Linked DNA regions of Homo sapiens: regions 2, 3, 4, 5 and 6 are each linked to region 1. The links are contacts of gene promoters, found by promoter capture Hi-C in blood cells and fetal thymus (Javierre and others, 2016). All regions are on one chromosome and are shown on one strand. The core of a region is centred on a gene start or on the middle of the fragment in contact, and the rest is flanking DNA. Distances in the headings are between cores, read along the strand shown. Region 1 holds the start of CHSY3 (chondroitin sulfate synthase 3). Region 2 overlaps RAPGEF6 (Rap guanine nucleotide exchange factor 6). Region 3 overlaps CDC42SE2 (CDC42 small effector 2). Region 4 holds the start of CDC42SE2 (CDC42 small effector 2). Region 5 holds the start of HINT1 (histidine triad nucleotide binding protein 1). Region 6 has its middle 87 kb from the start of HINT1.

Region 1 (2,782 bases), core at 79-2,578:
CACCCCAGACTATAGCTTTATGCACAACCTTTAGAGAGAAATTTGTTAATGCTCCCTTCTTCAAAAATCATATACCTTCAGGTAATTTCTTCCTAACGTAACTAAGGCACAATGATTTTGGCCAATACAGCTTAACTTTTTTTGAGATTCTGTTGCTGGACAATTTTCCTCCCTCATTGGAGAGGTAAAATTTTCCTGTCTTTGCCTTAGAAAATAAAACGGTTCATAGGCAAGAATAAAAATCATATCCTCCATTTTATTTTTTGATTAAGTTCACTTATTTTGTGGGGGTAAGAATTTCTTTCGTTTGGATCTTCAGGGTATTGGCCCTGTGAATGTGTGCCCATTTCTCCACTATTTGCCAGTCCCACTGAGCCAATCTTCTACCAAGACTGAAAATAGACCATAGTTCTCATTTCTTGAACAGATATCATCAGGAGAGCCGAGGGGGAGACCATTAGGCAGCCCCACATTTTCCAACTCAACAGGTGGAGGACATGGGATTTTTACGTTCTTTGGGGATTGAACCCCCACACACCACCAACTCCCTTAGCCTTTCAGGATAAGTATTTCCAATCCCTCAGAGATTTTCTTAGGAGAGACCCTAACGACAATGGTGCTTCTGTGAAGGACTGAGGAGAGCTGGTGGACGATGCAGGTAGGAGGGAAGTTAGGCTGGGAGGAGAGGTGCTGGGATGGGACGTTTGGTTTCCTGACAAGTGACCGACTAGAGAGAGAAGGCGCGGAGTGGCAGCGGTAAGAACAACGTGGAAAGGACGGAAAACGCGAAGAGTGGCGCCCTGGCGGACCTGGGGCGGGGCAGAGTGGTAAGGGTCACGCCAGGACGTACCCGGCTGTGGGCCGGGGGAGGAGAGCACGGTGGGACAGCAACGAACTTGCTGGGGGCTCCCGGACCCGAGCTCCGCCGATGAGGTCAGCGGAGCCTAGGCGCCGGGAGGAGGCCAGTAGAGCCCCCAGACACGAGTGTCGGGAGGCCAGCGGAGGGGCGGGACGGGACGGGAAATGGGACGAAGAGCAAGAGCTGGGGGAGGAGGGAAGAGGGGGCGTCGGCGCTGCAAGCCGGAGGCGGCCCGACAGGGATCGTTTCCTTCCGGAGAGGAGGCCGGCTCTGGACTGAGGCGCGGACGGGGGGCGTCCAAGGGCGGGTGACGGGGAAATACCGCGGCCCGCGCTTCTCTCCGGCTGGCAGCGGTGCCGCCTGCGGCTCCTCCTCCGGGCCAGCTCGGAGCCCGGCGGCGGGGGGAGCGGGAGGCGGGAGTGAGGGCGGGGGCTCGGGAAGGAGGGAGGAGGGAGGGCCCAGGCGCGCCACTGACAGGGTGGCAGCCTAGGAGCGGACGCGTTGCCGCCGCCGCTGCTCCTCCTCCTCCTCCTGCAGCTCCTCCAGCTGCCGCTGCTGCCGCCGCTGCCGCCACCGCCGCCGCCGGGAGAAGTTTCACTCCCGACCCTTGCTCGGAGCCCCGGCCCAGAGCTGAGCGGGAGCCCGGCAGGCAGCTGCAGCCCGCGGCAGTCGAGGCGTCCGCGGCGCTTCGACCTCCAGCCGGTGTCGGCGCCTAGGCGGCCGGCTGCGGCCGCGGCTGGGGGCGCAAAGGCGGAGGAGGGGCGGGTGTGAGCCGGGGAAACCGCGTGCCGCGCCGCGACAGCCCAGCGAGCGTCCGCGCCCGGGACAGCCGCGATGGCTGTGCGCTCTCGCCGCCCGTGGATGAGCGTGGCATTAGGGCTGGTGCTGGGCTTCACCGCCGCGTCCTGGCTCATCGCCCCCAGGGTGGCGGAGCTGAGCGAGAGGAAGAGACGTGGCTCCAGCCTCTGCTCCTACTACGGTCGCTCTGCTGCTGGCCCCCGCGCCGGCGCTCAGCAGCCGCTCCCCCAGCCCCAGTCCCGACCACGGCAGGAGCAGTCGCCGCCCCCCGCGCGCCAGGATCTCCAGGGGCCACCGCTGCCCGAGGCAGCACCCGGGATCACCAGTTTTCGAAGCAGCCCCTGGCAGCAGCCACCTCCGCTGCAGCAGCGGCGGCGAGGACGCGAGCCTGAGGGCGCGACGGGGCTTCCCGGTGCTCCAGCGGCCGAGGGGGAGCCCGAGGAGGAGGACGGGGGCGCGGCTGGGCAGCGGAGAGACGGCCGGCCGGGGAGTAGCCACAACGGCAGCGGGGACGGGGGCGCTGCCGCCCCGAGCGCCCGACCCCGGGACTTCCTGTACGTGGGGGTGATGACCGCGCAGAAGTACCTGGGCAGCCGCGCGCTGGCCGCGCAGCGGACCTGGGCGCGTTTCATCCCGGGCCGCGTGGAGTTCTTTTCCAGCCAGCAGCCCCCCAACGCCGGCCAGCCCCCGCCACCCCTGCCTGTCATCGCGCTACCGGGTGTGGACGACTCCTATCCTCCCCAGAAAAAGTCCTTCATGATGATCAAGTACATGCACGACCACTACCTGGACAAGTATGAGTGGTTCATGCGCGCCGACGACGATGTCTACATCAAAGGTGACCTCCCTGCGCCGGCTTTCCAGCCTGCCAGTCTCCCCGACTCCTTTCTCTGTAACCGGTCCTAGCCCCTGCCCAGCCCCTCCGCTGCTTCTCTGCCAGCACGTGCTTCGGGCTCCCACAGGCCCTGGCCCGCCCTCCCCACCCCTTGCATCCGCCCACAATTCGTAGCCCGTTCCTCGTCTTCTGCAATCTGGACCCTCCTCACACCTGCCTGGCTTTATTCGCCTTCCTCACTTGCTGTTTTCGGTGCCGCCTCGCGCTTGTCCCTTAGTCTTTACCTCGTC
Region 2 (2,782 bases), core at 180-2,679, 1.5 Mb after region 1:
CGGGTCTCAAAGAAGTAAAAAATATCTTCTTGCTCACAGAGGAAAGTAGGGTTTAGTAGATATGTGACCTTTGGACCAATACCTAGAAATGTCATTAGGAAGAATTACAGGCTTTGGGTATGTTACTGGAATTCTCAGGGCCTCATCTTCATGCAGAAAGAGGATGACAACATCCTTAGTTCCAAGTCTTTCTCTGTTTATGGATCTTGGAGTTATTCACATATAACTCAAGTCATTTAAGGAATAATTTGTTGCACAGTAATCTTATTAAGTCGTTTCGTTAACTATTTCAAAGAGAAAAAGGCCTAGAAAATGTGTGATTTATATTTGGCCTACGTGGACAGGAACAGGGTAAGCCAAGACAAGCCAGTCTTCTGACGTCTATCATACATCTCTGAACTTGGGATCACTGCTATTTGTCAATGTCCATGAGCTGATTAGTCAATTTTTAAGAGGACCAAGAAAGTGGATGTAATAAGTAAATTAAAAATAAATAAAAACCTTCTTCTTGAAAAGAAAAAGTCATTGCTCTACACAATAATCTTGCTTCATTGTTTAAAAAATAATTTCATTCTTATGTCTATTTGATCAGTATTTCTCAAATATAATAATACTAAGAACCACCTGGCAAGCCAATTAAAATAAACATTCCAGATCCCATTTCTGGCAATTCAAGTTTATGAAGTCTGGGGTGGGACACAGTAATTGCATTTTTTAACAAGTTTCCCAGATGATTCTGATATTGCTATGTTAGACTAGTCCCTTCTCCCCCAATCAAAGATACGTAAAAAGTAGAAGATAAAAAAGCCTCCTCTACATATTTCACTCACAGATCCAGCTAACAGTAGGAAATAAAGTCAACTACAGAAAACAAGAGTATAAAATTTACTAACTCAATACATCAGTAAAATAACTTATGTACAAATGAGGCATTTTCAAGTGTTTATAAATAGTATTTTACTAAGTTGTCTGCCTAAGCTTTGACAAATGGTTTAATTTAAGCCATGTATACATTAATAACTGAAAACAAACTTAACACTAAAATTAAATAAGGAACTTCATCAGAGTGTCTTCCTCCTTTTAGACTTGAATCGCGTATAGAAGCAGTTTAAAGTGTTACTGTTGCCTTGGCTATTTGAATTGAAGATGGCACTCCCTTTCTCATCTTTGATGTTGCTTCCAACATCCTTCACTTTCTCACAGCTTTCTGTAGCTTGATTGTGATCTGTGTCCTCTTTTTGGCTGTTGACTAGTCTCTCCCTTGAAAGCATTCTTTCCCTAAGTCTTCTAAACGGGGATGTCATTCTTTTTCTGGTTGTGTTCTCACAACTTGTCCTGTCTCTATTCTCCTCAGTGGCCTTCTCAGTACTGTCTGTTCTTTTGGCTGTGCTCCTGGTAATCTGAAGGATTTTCTTTTGCAAGTAAGCCCCACCTATTCCGGGGCAGCTCTGGCCACTGATCTTGCTGCTGTGATCAGATATGATACTGCCAACTGGAGGGAGAGATGCAAAAACCCTGACATGGTCAATCACAATTAGCCTTGTTTACATAATATTTCACTATTTAAAAATTCTAACATCTTGATAATATCTGAAAAATTGAAATCTAGCAACATATTTTTTAATGCATGGAAAAAAATCTACTTATATATAAAACATATACACATCAGTTATTGCAAGACAGAATGCAGGAGAAAGATTACCTTTATCAGCACAAGCTGGTGATAAAAATAAAAACAAAAACAAAAACAAAAAAACTGTTGAAAGGAAGCCAAGCTGGTAAAATCATAAGGAAAAATATGACAAAAATATCAGGTAACTAGAATTATTTCTGTAAAGTAACTATGTAGGTCTAGAATTGTAAGGTAGATTTTACTATGAAGAAGCTTAGTAAAAACCAAATAAGACATATAAATAGTACATACAATAGGTATATTTATAACGTTCATTTTCTGATCCTGTTGTAGATCCAAGGTGGAGAGTGCTTTTCTTAAACACTAGGGTAGATAATGTTTAAGGTCTTTTGACTTCTTTTTTAAAGTTCTTGTTTAAACTATCCTCATGCAAAACATGAAGACAGGTTTATTTTCTTAATCATAAGAAAACAAAGAACAGATCTCCAAGTTTAATAAGAACCAGGAACAGATCCTAATAATTTACTCTGAGCATAATGACAGTTTTGTTCAATCATAGGTTACTGGCAAAAACCTGTCTACAAAAATAGAAGGATCATACTTGGTTGGGGTTTTGATAGTACACATGCAAGAACAAGCTGAAACAGTTTTGAAGAGAAGAATTTCTTCAGGCTTCTAAGAATTCTAAACATTACTACGAGAAGCTCACAAACCTATAAACATGGTGTTCAATTGTTGGCTACAATTTTCTCACAAAGGGAGAAAATACTTCTCTATTCGAGTGTTGAGTGTAGATTTTGTTGGGAATAAGAGCAATGGAGGAATTCCTGTTTCTAATACCACTTTCCAGAAGTCACATTCAGGCATAAAATACCAAATCAGCTATAATGGGATGGACCACTGAGCAGCCTCTAACAGGGGTAAGGAGTGTAAAGGTGTTCCTGAACGAGCATTAGGAGCATATGGATACTGTTCATTTGGACCATCTGTCTGACTGGAGGCACTGCGGCTTATCCTACATCGCAAGATCTGGTAAGGGGCGCATTGGATAGGACCATACAGACAAGGAAAGTGATGACATAGGTCTGTGTGCCACACAAAATTACATATGAGCTACAACAGGATCAAAATCTGTGTTTTATAAATACA
Region 3 (2,782 bases), core at 125-2,624, 1.5 Mb after region 1:
CCACCTTTCAGCTCTGCTCCCTCTTGACACTTGTACACACTGCTGATTTTCCTACTGACTTTCAGGCTGTTTCTTTTTGGCCTTCTTTGATGGCTTCTTCTCTGCCCAACCACAGAAATTTAGTTTGTCTAGGAAATCTCATTAACTTGGCTTTGTTAATGCTGGTGATTCTCAGTCTCTTATCTCCAGTTTGGATTCTCTCAGAACCCAGTGAATTGCACACTCTCTGCTGAAATCTGAAGTCTGTGCATATTTCTTAACTCCTCCCTCTCACTGTTACCAAATCCAGCCTGCAACCAAGTGCTGTTTTTTTTTGTTTTTTTTTTTGTTTTTTTGAGAGAAGTCTCGCTCTTGTCCCCCAGGCCTGAGTGCAATGGCTCGATCTCGGCTCACTGCAACCTCCGCCTCCTGGGTTCAAACGATTCTCCTGTCTCTGCCTCCCAAGTAGCTGGGATTAAGGCACCTGCTACCACGCCTGGCTAATTTTTGTATTTTTGGTAGAGACGGGGTTTCACTGTGTTGGCCAGGCTGGTCTCGAACTCTTGACCTCAGGTGATCCACCCGCCTCGGCCTCCCAAAGTGCTGGGATTACAGGCGTGAGCCACCACATCCGGCCCAAATGCTGTTGATTTTATCCACTGACTACTTCTTGAATCTATCCACTTCTATCTGTGTTATTAGTTGAATCCACATAATCCCTTTTCACCAACATTAATAACTTATTTTGACCTCTTCTAACATGTTTTCCACCTATAGCTATTGTGGAATAGTCTTCTCAAGCTATTTAATCATGTTATTCCTCTGCTTTAAAACACTTTCAATTATTTCCCATTGTTCTTGGGAGGATCACACACTTCAGTCCTTTACAAACTCTATGTGATCTGGTTCTTGCTTATCTTACTATTTTCATCTTAGGTGTTTACCTTTACTATGCTCGCACAACACAGTTGCTCCTTTCAGTTTCTGGACAGCTGAGTTCCCTCAGCCTTGGGGAGCGAAGGACTGAAAGCTTCTTTCATATCTCACAAACTGTTAGATTAGATGCCATGAAGAAACCTTCCAATACTAAGGTGTGACTCCCAGCTCAGTATAGTTCAAGCTGAAAAATACTCACTATTATTTTCACATTCATATATATTAGTTATCTAATAACACAGTATGATAGAAGTAAGCTGAAGTCTTCCCATCCTTTGCTTTTCAGTGTCAGAGTAGCTTCTTGGGAACTAGTTTTGTTATCAGCTTTTGAATATTCTCAGTAATCATGTTTGCTGAATTATTGTTTGTGAGTATGTGTTAATACCCTTCTTTCACAAGCATATCTATTCATTCTTTTTGGGTGAGATGGGTGGTGGCCTGAGCACACTATGGTTTCTGTTCTCCCCCAACACAGTCCTGCAGTAACTCAACAGAATAAATCACTTAATATGGAGGTATAGACCAAGTGGAGCCTTTTGGCAAGCTCTAAACACACCCTTCTGGAGGAAATGATGCAGAATGAGAACTGTTAGGAGTTGCTTCTGCAGGTTCACAGGACAAGGGTTGATCAAGACTCCTCCTAGTGGTCTGGAAGTAGGTACCAGGAAGTATTCTCTGGTACCACCTCCTCCCCTGCTTGAGAGAGCCAAGTGGCTCTCTCTGCATATCAGAAGCAGTTATCTTGACATGTTTACTGCAAACGCCTGGGGAAGAGTCTGGTGTCCTGCAGATGCCACTGTCCTGTGGAACTGTGACAAGAACCTAGAAGCTTCCCTCTCTACCTGTCAGTTAAGTGGCTCACTGGGGAAGAAATCCCAATAATTTGTCCTGCCCACATGCTGAGAAAATTCGTATCCTGTGATGGTAAAGATTACATTTCTGGACCTGCCCAAATAGCTTCCTAATAAGGAAATTTAGTGGAAATGTAATAATATATTATTAAGAAGAGAAAAAGGCACAAAACTGTTAACATCTTTTTTCCCTACTTTATTCCTAAAAAAGATAAGTTAGCATTGTTTAAGGCTAATTCATAGAATTATGCTTTATCATTCCAAACAAAAATAGTATGAAGAGAAGTATGTTGAATGGGGTGGTTGGAAATAGACAAACTGAGTCTGTGAAAAAGATGGGGAACAGAGGAAAAGACCAGTGCATTGCTGGCATGCAGCACTCCAGATCAAAGGATGGTTGTGGGTGTCAAGTCTGCCATTAGGGGCAGGGAGTCTTTGTATGAGGCACCTCTAAGATCATCAGAGGGAGCAGTATGCGAGAAAAAGATAGCAGGAAACCAGTGCATTGTGCTAGGAAATAGAAAAATTAAAACACATAGACAAAAGCCTCTTTTGACTTTATGATACCATTTTAACCTGCAAGTTTTATGATTCTGTGGAACAGGGCCCCAAAAGACAGACAGTTTCTTACCAACTTTCAAAAAAAGGCTTGAAGTAAAACTAAAGTTGTTCAAATAAAGAAATGAGAGTTCTTTGTTCCCTAGTGTTATAGACTTATAATTTATATAGTTAAGTGTTTTTAGGGAAAAGAGTGAAAAACTATAATAATACAACTTTTTCAGAGATTAAAAAATGTTGCAATGACATGTCATAACAGCCTCTGAAAAATAACCATAATGGAAAAAATGAAATTATGTGGCTACTACTGAAAAAATCTAGAGCTGGGGTCAGCAGACTACTACTTTTACAGGCTAAATCTAGCCTGTCACCTGTTTTTGTAAATAAATTTTTACCATAACACAGCTATACTCATTTAATTTCATGTGCTCTGCAGCTGCTTTCATGCTACAATAGCA
Region 4 (2,782 bases), core at 124-2,623, 1.4 Mb after region 1:
CAACCCGCGCGCGAGCCTGGGCGGGGAGGGGGAGCCAGGAAGCTGCGAGCGCGCTGGGGAGCGCAGCTGCAGGCGTTGGGGCGGCAGGAGCCGCGGAGCCGGCGCTGAGAGGGGCTGCGGCCGGAGCGGGCGGCTGAGACAAAGGCGACGGTGAGTGCAATGCCAGCCCCAGTCGCGCGTCGGCCGCCACGCCTCGCCCTCTCGGTCCCTTGGGCGGGGTCCCGAAGCCCCGAACCCTCGTCCCTGAGGGCTCTGGGGTGAGCGCGGCCCGGCCTTGCCAGCCGCGCGCTGCGGGCTGTGGGCTGAGCCTGCGTCTTCCATTTCAGGTTTGGGCGAGGTCCTCATGCCCTAGGACCCTGCCTTTGGTTTTTCTTCTGTTTCCTCTGAGGAATGGTTACACGCTCAGTTCAGAATTCACGGCAGGCGGACAGCTGAGGCAGCCAACTGACCGCCTGATGTAAAATGGAAAGGCAGACCCCCCCCCTCCCCCCAACTTTTCACGTCTGGAAGTCGGGAGGGTGGTGCGAGGGGCGGGCGGGGAGGGCCCGGGGTCTCTAGGTGAGGGTTTCGGGGAGCAAAGACACCTGGCTCCGGAGCTCCGACTCTTCGCCTGAGGCGCCCGACGCGTTCAGTCCGCGGGTCCTGCCGCGGTTCGCCCCGGGCCCCGGGCTTGAAAGCCCTTGGCTACCTCGTCGCGGGAGCTGAGCTACTCTTACAGGTTGTTTTACCCAGTGCTTGCAGCTTTAAGTTGCGATTTTAGGCAACGGGTGTGGTAGGTAGCGGCTCCTTGATGCCGCATTAACAGCTGAAAAAGCGCCCCGATCCGCTGACTTCACTATGTGTAAGAAACAACATTGGGGATTCCTCTTTAGCTTGCAATTATTTTAAATGATAAGCTTTTTTAGGGGAATTTTGGGGGGTGATGTGCAGTTTACAAAATCTAAATGTTTCGTTGAAGGGCCTGGCTTATAGTACGTGCTCAGTAAAGTATTTGTTGAATGAATGAATCTTGAAATATCAGACAAAGCTTATCTCACATCTAGTAAAATTTAGGCACATACTCCTTGATTATGATTAAGGAAAGAATGTCGGCAAACAGTATGTATTTTTGATATACGTTTTTTAGTTTTTGTCCCACATAACATACTGTTGATGAACAGTCCGTTCTTACTCTCAATATTATGAACATAGAAAATATATATCAAATTTGGATTTTCTCTTTTGGTTTGAGAGAAGTTGGTATACATTTTCTGTTTCTTAAAAACAGGCCTTATTTCTAATCTTTAAAAATAATGGAGAAGATAAAGAGGGAGTGGGATTGTATTTTGAAACCCAGCTTTCTGTTTCATTATGAATAAAGGAGTTTATGTGTTTTTGAGAAGGGACTGTGGTATGGTCTTGCTGCTTTTTGAGCAAGGGAGAACTCTAAATTTAGGGGGGGAAAAGCTAATGTTGCACTAATATAATAAAATGTCACCATTTACTCAACAGATATTCATTAAGCACCTGTTTATGGGCACAGGCAAAATCCGCAATTATCCTTTTCTTAAACTTGAATGCAAAGTTATTTCCTTATTATTGATGTCGCAAGTGGTGACTGTCTTAAACCCCTAGTGGCTATTTCAGTTGGGAAAGATGGCAGGTGAACTGCAGGAAGTGTAAATTCATAACAGCCTTTAAAGGTTAATAAGTAACTTTGTACAGCTAAAATTATTGGGTTAAGCTTTTATATTGTCAGTTTAATAGAATCTGTCTACATTTTAAAATGAAGGGAGGAAGACATTTAATAAGCTAGTGTTTTTATTATCTCCCTGGTCCCTATTAGGAGACTTTGGTACAGTGTATTGAAGGGTAATGTACTTCTGGTCCTGTTTTCTGTAAATAATCTTTGTAATAACATTTTCTGTTTTTAAAAATCCCCAGAGATAAACAGTAGATTCCTTTTCTATAAGAAATGTTTTAAAATAAAGCTTCATTTCAGGAATTTTATTTTGTCCTTGTGTTCACCACTTACAAATAAATGCATATAAACTTGATAGTGCTAAAAAGGGAAGGATTATTAGTAATAATTTGTGGTTCCATATGTGGACTTATCTTTTAGTATTGCAACTGTGATAAAACTACTAATTTAAAAGGATGAGATTTGTAGTTTTGCATTTATTCTGAACATAAGGTTGCGTTGCCTATTTTAATCTATTTATATATGTTTAAAAAGCAGTAATATTTTATTTATTTCAGGAATCCAGACTAATGTGATCCAAAGTCTGTCTTGATTATTATGAAATAATGTAGATATTAATTTTTTTATAGTTAGCTTTTTTGTATTTAAGTGGGCTGTTTTGACTGTTAATGCTTATAATACTTAATACATTGTTAAAGATAATGTTTACATTCAAATAGAAGTTTCAGATTTTGGACTTACCGGCTATTAGCTTTTTTTTTTCTTTTTTTTTTTTTTTTCGAGACGAAGTCTCGCTCTGTCACCCAGGCTAGAGTGCAGCGGTGTGATCTCGGCTTACTGCAACCTCCGCCTTTGGGGCTCGAGCTATTCTCATGCCTCAGCCTCCCATGTAGCTGGGATTACAGACATGCGCCACTATGCCCTATTTTTTGTATTTTCAAAAAGAGACGGGGTTTCTCTGTGTTGGCCAGGCTGGTCTCGAACTCCTGGTCTCAAGTGATCTGCCCGCCTCGGCCTCCCAAAGTGTGCTGTTAGCTTTTTATTGTTGTTTCTAGAAAAAATAAGGAAAGTAATTCTTCAAATTTTAGTGATAGAGAATTG
Region 5 (2,782 bases), core at 112-2,611, 1.3 Mb after region 1:
CTGATTCATTTAGAATGCTTCCTGCCGTTCTACAGTTGGACTTCGGTGGTTCAAATGTAAATTTTTCAAGAACCATTTCTCAAAGGCAACTGCGAACTTTAAAAAGAAATATTTTTTCTAAAACCAAAGAATTTCCCCTGAGTAGAGACAAAGTATTTTTTTTTTTAATTTACCTAGAGGAACCTAATTAAATTTTTGATAACGTTTTGAATCTAACCGACATTAGTAGAATAAATGTTTTTCTTAGATTTTATATTTCCTAAATTTAACAAAACTGTTTACAAAATTTGTTCTATCTAAATCAGCCAATCTGCCCAGCTTTATCTGAGATCCAATCCCAAAAATACAACTGGCCACTAAATAATTTACACAAGATATCTCAAAGTCACATCAACTGGGATTTCACCTACAAGAAGTCAACAAAAACTACAGTCTTAGTCTCTTGGCATAAAATTACTTCCTGTTGAATACAAAAAGAATCATTCAGCTGTTTGTAAGTCCAAAATGTTCAGCGGGAGAGGTCAACGGAAAGCAAATCCCAGACGCGGGCCCACTTCTTATCTCAGGAGATCGCCTCGCTAGCCCAGGGTAGGCCTTGGGGTGGAGATAGGGATAGGGGTAGGGGTGAGGGTGGCAAGCCGCACCCCGCGGAGGAAGCCGGCAGGCCCAGACGGCCCGCGCACCTCCCAGCGCCCCTGGGGCCCTCGAGCACAATGCCTTGCTGAGCAGCGCCCAGGAACGCCGGGCCCTGGCAGGCCGGCTGTGCGCGGGAGATCGCGGAGATTGGGCCTGAGTCAGGGCGCGATCGGGTTTCTCTCTGTCAGGCAGAGCGCTGGCGAGATTTCGAGATTCCTGATACAGGCAAGGTCCGAGGCAGCCGGGGAACCGGCGGGCTTCCACGCGGGGGCCCCAGTGCGCCCCGACACGCGCCCAGGCCCCGCGGTGCGGCACTCAGGGCGCCCGGCGGCCTGGCCCGCGCCCGGGGCAGATAACGAGTAACCGGAGCGCCGGCACGCGCCGGCAGGCCGCCTCGGAGTGCCCGGGCCCTGTCCGCTGGCTGGGGGCCCGCTGGACCAGGGCAGCCAGGTCCCCTCCCGTCGCCGCTACACTCGCGACCCCTCCTCTCCCTCCGCGAGAAACCCGAGGATCCGCGGACGATACCCACCTCAGCAGGCGAGAGAGGTGGTGCCCAGTACCTACCCGGTCATCCTCAAAAATGATTTTGGCTGGTATTTCCTTGCGGATGATCTTCCCAAAGATCGTGTCGCCACCAGGCCGAGCGACCTGAGCCTTGGCAATCTCATCTGCCATCTCGGCCTCTCTCCCGCGCGGCGGCCAGAGGAGAGGCTCGGAAGAAGGGAGGAACCCGCAGAGCGTGCGGCGCGAGAGGGCGCAGCCAAGCCTGCGCAGGTGCCCCGGCTCTGGCGCCCCACCTAATCTTGCGCGTGCGCACTGGCGACCTGGGCTGCGAGTGCGGCCAGCGCGCTAGAGCGCCTCAGGGACCTCCGGCTTGGGGAAGTTCCTGGTCTTGAGCTCCAAGGAGATTCCTAAGTCGTTTTTCTATCCTCCTTTCTTGTCTCCTGGGGAATGCAGTTACTGGTATAAACCCTTCGTCTGCCTATGGATGCTTGTAGGGAAAGTTGGATACTGTAACTGACAAGATTTGATAATTTAAGTGGTGCTGGCTGCAACTTAGCACTTAGATTATTTAAGGTCTTGCTGCTGCAGCAGATTTTAAGTCCTCTCTTCAACAGAGTTTTTTTCTCTCTCTACCAGTGGTTCTCAATCTTGACTACACATTAAGATCACTTGGGGAGCTTTTAAAAATCCCCGTGAACCTGGCTGCAGCCCAGATCCATTAAATAAGAATCTTTGGAGATGAGCCCCAGGCATCAGTAGTTTGTAAACCTCCCTAGACTGCTCTGCAAAGAATTTTTCCCAGCAGCAATCAACATAATGTATTAATAAAATGACCCACTTTAAAAAAAAAAACCTTCCTTAATCCCACATCCCCCTCCGTATCTTTGCTCGTTTTATAAAGAAGTTTTCTACATACCATGTCTGCTTTCTTATCTTTCATTTTTGAGTCCATTTCCCTCTTGTCAAGGTCACTAAGGACATCCATTTATAAAATCCTATAGACAATTACAGTTATCATACCAGACCTCTAAGTGTACGTATTAAGAAAAAGTATACCTCCTCAATGCCTTTTTTTTTTTTAGATAGATTCTTGCTCTGTCGCCCAGGCTCGACTGCAGTGGCACAATCTCGGCTCATTGCAACCTCTGCCTCCCGAGTTCGAGTGATTCTCATGCCTCAGCCTCCCAAGTAGCTAGGACTACAGGCGCGCACCACCACACCTGGCTAATTTTTGTATTTTTAGTAGAGACAGGGTTTCCCCATGCTGGCCAGGCTGTTCTCAAACTTCTGACCTCAGGTGTTCCACCCGCCTCAGCCTCCCAAAGTGCTGGGATTACAGATGTGAGCTCAGCTGCCTTTTATGATTACATTACTACCCTTGTCTTGGCAAAATTATTGAATGTGGTTGCCTTTAATCTCAAAAGTGTCCATTTGGTACTTTTGCTATCAAAGACATTACTGGGACAATTCGTAAAATCTAAATAATGCCTATAAATTAGATAATAGTTTTGAAGTCATGTTAATTTCCTTTCATAACCACAGAAAAATTGTCAAAATCAGTTGATCTGGGGTGGGGCCCTACAAGTTAGGTTTCTAACTTTCCAGGTGATACAGTTGCTGCTGGCCCGGGAACCATACTTTA
Region 6 (2,782 bases), core at 104-2,603, 1.2 Mb after region 1:
TGGGCAGCTTTTCTTCTCCCTTTTCCAAGAGAGACTGATATTTCTAAGTCCTTGTTTTATGGAGAGATCTAAGGGTTAGGCCCCAGCTTTGTGAGGTTCTAACAACACATCTTCTGTCCAGGAGGGTGTGATAAAATTGTAGCCTCTCATTTCCAAAGCCTGTATTTGGGTCCTCCAACCACATGGGTAGCCAGAGAGACAGCTCCTGCACTTTTCATTCCAACTATCTTTTCCCTATTCATTTCCTTGGGAATTATATTTATTTGTTTTTAGCTTTGCTATGGATTTAATTTTTTATTGTAGTTTTTCAAACATTTCTATGTGATTGTAGTGAGTCCATGCTAGTATAATCAGCCAATTTAGTCCTACAGCTGTCTTCCTATCTGCTAGTTTGAATTTTTTACAATGTCAAACATCACCTATACCAACCCCTTACATTTATAGGCTCAGCAATTGAAGCTCAAAAAAGTTAAGTGTCTTGCCAAATCATACCAAAATTTAGTAACAGAAACCAAATAAACCTACACATCTAGGTTTTTTTCCTCATCCTACAAATTTAGTACTTATTGTCATGTAGATTAAAAGACCAAGTTTCTATCCAGATGTTTCAAGGTAATATATTGAAGAAGTTGAGCACGTTGGGAAGCTATATTAATTTATACATATCACTAGCATGCCAAGTAACATATTATCTCTGTAGGGCAACTGACCGCACCTTGAAAATGAAAATAGATAATGAGGCTTGGTTTGTAACCAACTTTTCAATAATTTTGATTTTCTTAACACTAAATATGAGATCCTTTGTTTAATTTTTTTCAACTTCTATTATCACTTTCAGTTTCTATTTAGTGTGAAAGCTAAGAAGAAAAAAAGACAACCCTTTTTCATCAAGCATAATCATTCTATGAAATAAAATGCTCTCATAGAATATCATGTTAATTTTGCTTAAACCTACAAATAGGTTTTAGAACATCTGTTCACCATAATTAGGTTGACTGAATATCAAAATTACCAAATTTCTTTCCATTCTTTTATTCTATACCCATGAATGTACTAAGGCTTTCAGGACAAAAATGCGAGAGAGGGGTGGTTTTTTGTTGTTGCTGTTTTTATACTTTACACTTTTATTTTTTTACCCAGACAGAATATATAAAGTCATACATTGGTGGTGACTCTTCATTCATTCATTTGATAACTCTGTATTACATTTTCTACTATATATCATTTGTTTTATAATCTGCCAATGTTAGAAATCACTTTCGTCTTTAGTCACAATTAGATGGACACTTCAGACTCTAAGAGCCGGAAACAGGTATACCATCCCTTTATATCCTCTCCGACACAATGCCAAAAAAATACTCAAATGTTTGCTTGCCCTCTGCTATAGGTAGGACTGCTTACTGCCAGAGTTCTCTGGGTCCCCAACCTAGAAGAGCTCAACTGGTTATAAAAACAATGAGAGAGATTTGCTTAAAATCTTAGTCAAGCCATGTGGTCACAACCAGGTAAAGGGCTTCAGGGACACAAGGCATTTTGGCAATGTTAATTTTTGTTAGGTTAGGTTAGGTTAATGTTATGTCTCCTTGGGCAGACATGATGAGTCTATGTTCTAATCCTATTACAACATTTAGTAAAAGTTTAATGGTTATATCCTATCACAAATTTGTTACCTAATTTGAGGCACTAATGGATAGGGCTCTTTTATTTTCTTATTTTTCAATAGATCAAAGTCAAGCCAGTACAACATACAAAAAAAAATGCTAGGATTCAGCAAGATTTATATTTCTCCATTTTAGTGTTGTTTATCTTCTGGGAAAGGGACACACAAACCTTGGTTTAATAAGTTACAATAATAGGCAAATTAAAAATAATAAACAACAGTCACAGTCTGTTAATTATACCTGCTTCAGGGAAAACAGTAGAATTATTTCATGAGTGACTAAAAATCTTTAAGCTCTTATGAAGGATTTGACAAAAGATTCTCATAACCAGGGTAATCATAATTTATCATCACAACCAGGGGGCTGTGGGAGTGAAGGGAGTTTGTGCTGGGAACACTGGCATAAACTAGGACTATTCTGATCAAACCAGGACATAATCACTTTACTGTGCATTAAAACAAATAACTGGGGTTACGATAGAGGCCCTGCCCTCACAAAATTCAAAGGCATAGGTCATTAGATGTCACCATGGTGCAATATGGTAAGTAATAAGATAAAGGAATTGTAGAGAAGGGGCTAAGGACCCAAAAACCCTGTGTTGGGGGTCAGGGGTAATAAAAGAAAACCATGTGTCATCCAATAGTTCCAGAACCCTGTTTATTATCAGAATCACTTAGGGAACTTATTGGAGAATACAGATTCCTGCCTGCCCCCATCCCCTGCCAGAGTCTCATTTAATGGGGGAATGGTATCCCAGGGAGAGGAAATAGCATATACAGAGAGTCTGAGGGAAATGAACACCTATCCAATTCTGGGACTTGAAGGCATCAATTATAGTCTCAAAGCCTCGTTTACTCTTCATATTTATGTCCTAATAGCATACACAACCATAATGTGGATACTCTGGATGTTACTAATATTAACAGGCAAGTGATTAAACGCTAGACTAGTAGTCAAATGATAATTCTTATTCTGAATTGTCCATAGACTACTGCTTTTATGTTAAGGATTTTATTTTCTTTTCCTTTAAAGCAGGCCTGTTGACTTACAAATTCCAGTCTGACATGTAAAAAGCTTTGAACTTATCAATCCAGTTCTCATAACAAGAAAAAAGCTGAACA

What was found. The method cuts DNA at HindIII sites, captures the fragments that hold promoters and counts their contacts. A CHiCAGO score of 5 or more calls a contact.
Region 2: a contact is called between a fragment that was not itself captured here and the fragment with the promoter of CHSY3 in region 1, in 1 of 17 cell types (megakaryocytes). The highest score is 5.9, in megakaryocytes.
Region 3: a contact is called between a fragment that was not itself captured here and the fragment with the promoter of CHSY3 in region 1, in 2 of 17 cell types (erythroblasts and megakaryocytes). The highest score is 7.5, in erythroblasts.
Region 4: a contact is called between a fragment that was not itself captured here and the fragment with the promoter of CHSY3 in region 1, in 1 of 17 cell types (erythroblasts). The highest score is 9.0, in erythroblasts.
Region 5: the fragment with the promoter of HINT1 here is called in contact with the fragment with the promoter of CHSY3 in region 1 in 2 of 17 cell types (megakaryocytes and erythroblasts); the score reaches 6.8 in megakaryocytes.
Region 6: a fragment that was not itself captured here is called in contact with the fragment with the promoter of CHSY3 in region 1 in 1 of 17 cell types (erythroblasts); the score reaches 5.0 in erythroblasts.

Annotation. Positions count from the first base shown.
Region 1 is chr5:129,903,137-129,905,918 of GRCh38, forward strand. CHSY3 (chondroitin sulfate synthase 3) reads left to right here and starts at 1,329. Exons shown (of 3, transcript NM_175856.5): 1 at 1,329-2,495. The coding sequence starts at 1,694. CHSY3-AS1 (CHSY3 antisense RNA 1) reads right to left here. Exons shown (of 3, transcript XR_002956248.2): 1 at 2,706-2,782. RefSeq lists a silencer at 1,487-1,696. The HindIII fragment of the contact is 4,826 bases long and covers 1-2,782 here.
Region 2 is chr5:131,434,890-131,437,671 of GRCh38, forward strand. The region is part of intron 24 of RAPGEF6 (Rap guanine nucleotide exchange factor 6); the gene reads right to left. Among named protein-coding and RNA genes, the nearest start is that of CDC42SE2, 170 kb to the left of the region's middle. The HindIII fragment of the contact is 907 bases long and covers 977-1,883 here.
Region 3 is chr5:131,381,007-131,383,788 of GRCh38, forward strand. All of the region lies in intron 3 of CDC42SE2 (CDC42 small effector 2), which reads left to right. Among named protein-coding and RNA genes, the nearest start is that of CDC42SE2, 120 kb to the left of the region's middle. The HindIII fragment of the contact is 735 bases long and covers 1,008-1,742 here.
Region 4 is chr5:131,264,017-131,266,798 of GRCh38, forward strand. It overlaps CDC42SE2 (CDC42 small effector 2), which reads left to right and starts at 37. Exons shown (of 5, transcript NM_001375635.1): 1 at 37-150. RefSeq lists a silencer at 1-300 and an enhancer at 499-1,316. The HindIII fragment of the contact is 696 bases long and covers 1,026-1,721 here.
Region 5 is chr5:131,163,895-131,166,676 of GRCh38, forward strand. It overlaps HINT1 (histidine triad nucleotide binding protein 1), which reads right to left and starts at 1,362. Exons shown (of 3, transcript NM_005340.7): 1 at 1,201-1,362. The coding sequence starts at 1,311. RefSeq lists enhancers at 91-751, 752-1,411, 1,682-1,731 and silencers at 542-1,181, 1,392-1,471, 1,482-1,531. The HindIII fragment of the contact is 11,885 bases long and covers 1-2,782 here.
Region 6 is chr5:131,076,603-131,079,384 of GRCh38, forward strand. No RefSeq gene overlaps it. Among named protein-coding and RNA genes, the nearest start is that of HINT1, 87 kb to the right of the region's middle. The HindIII fragment of the contact is 2,760 bases long and covers 1-2,733 here.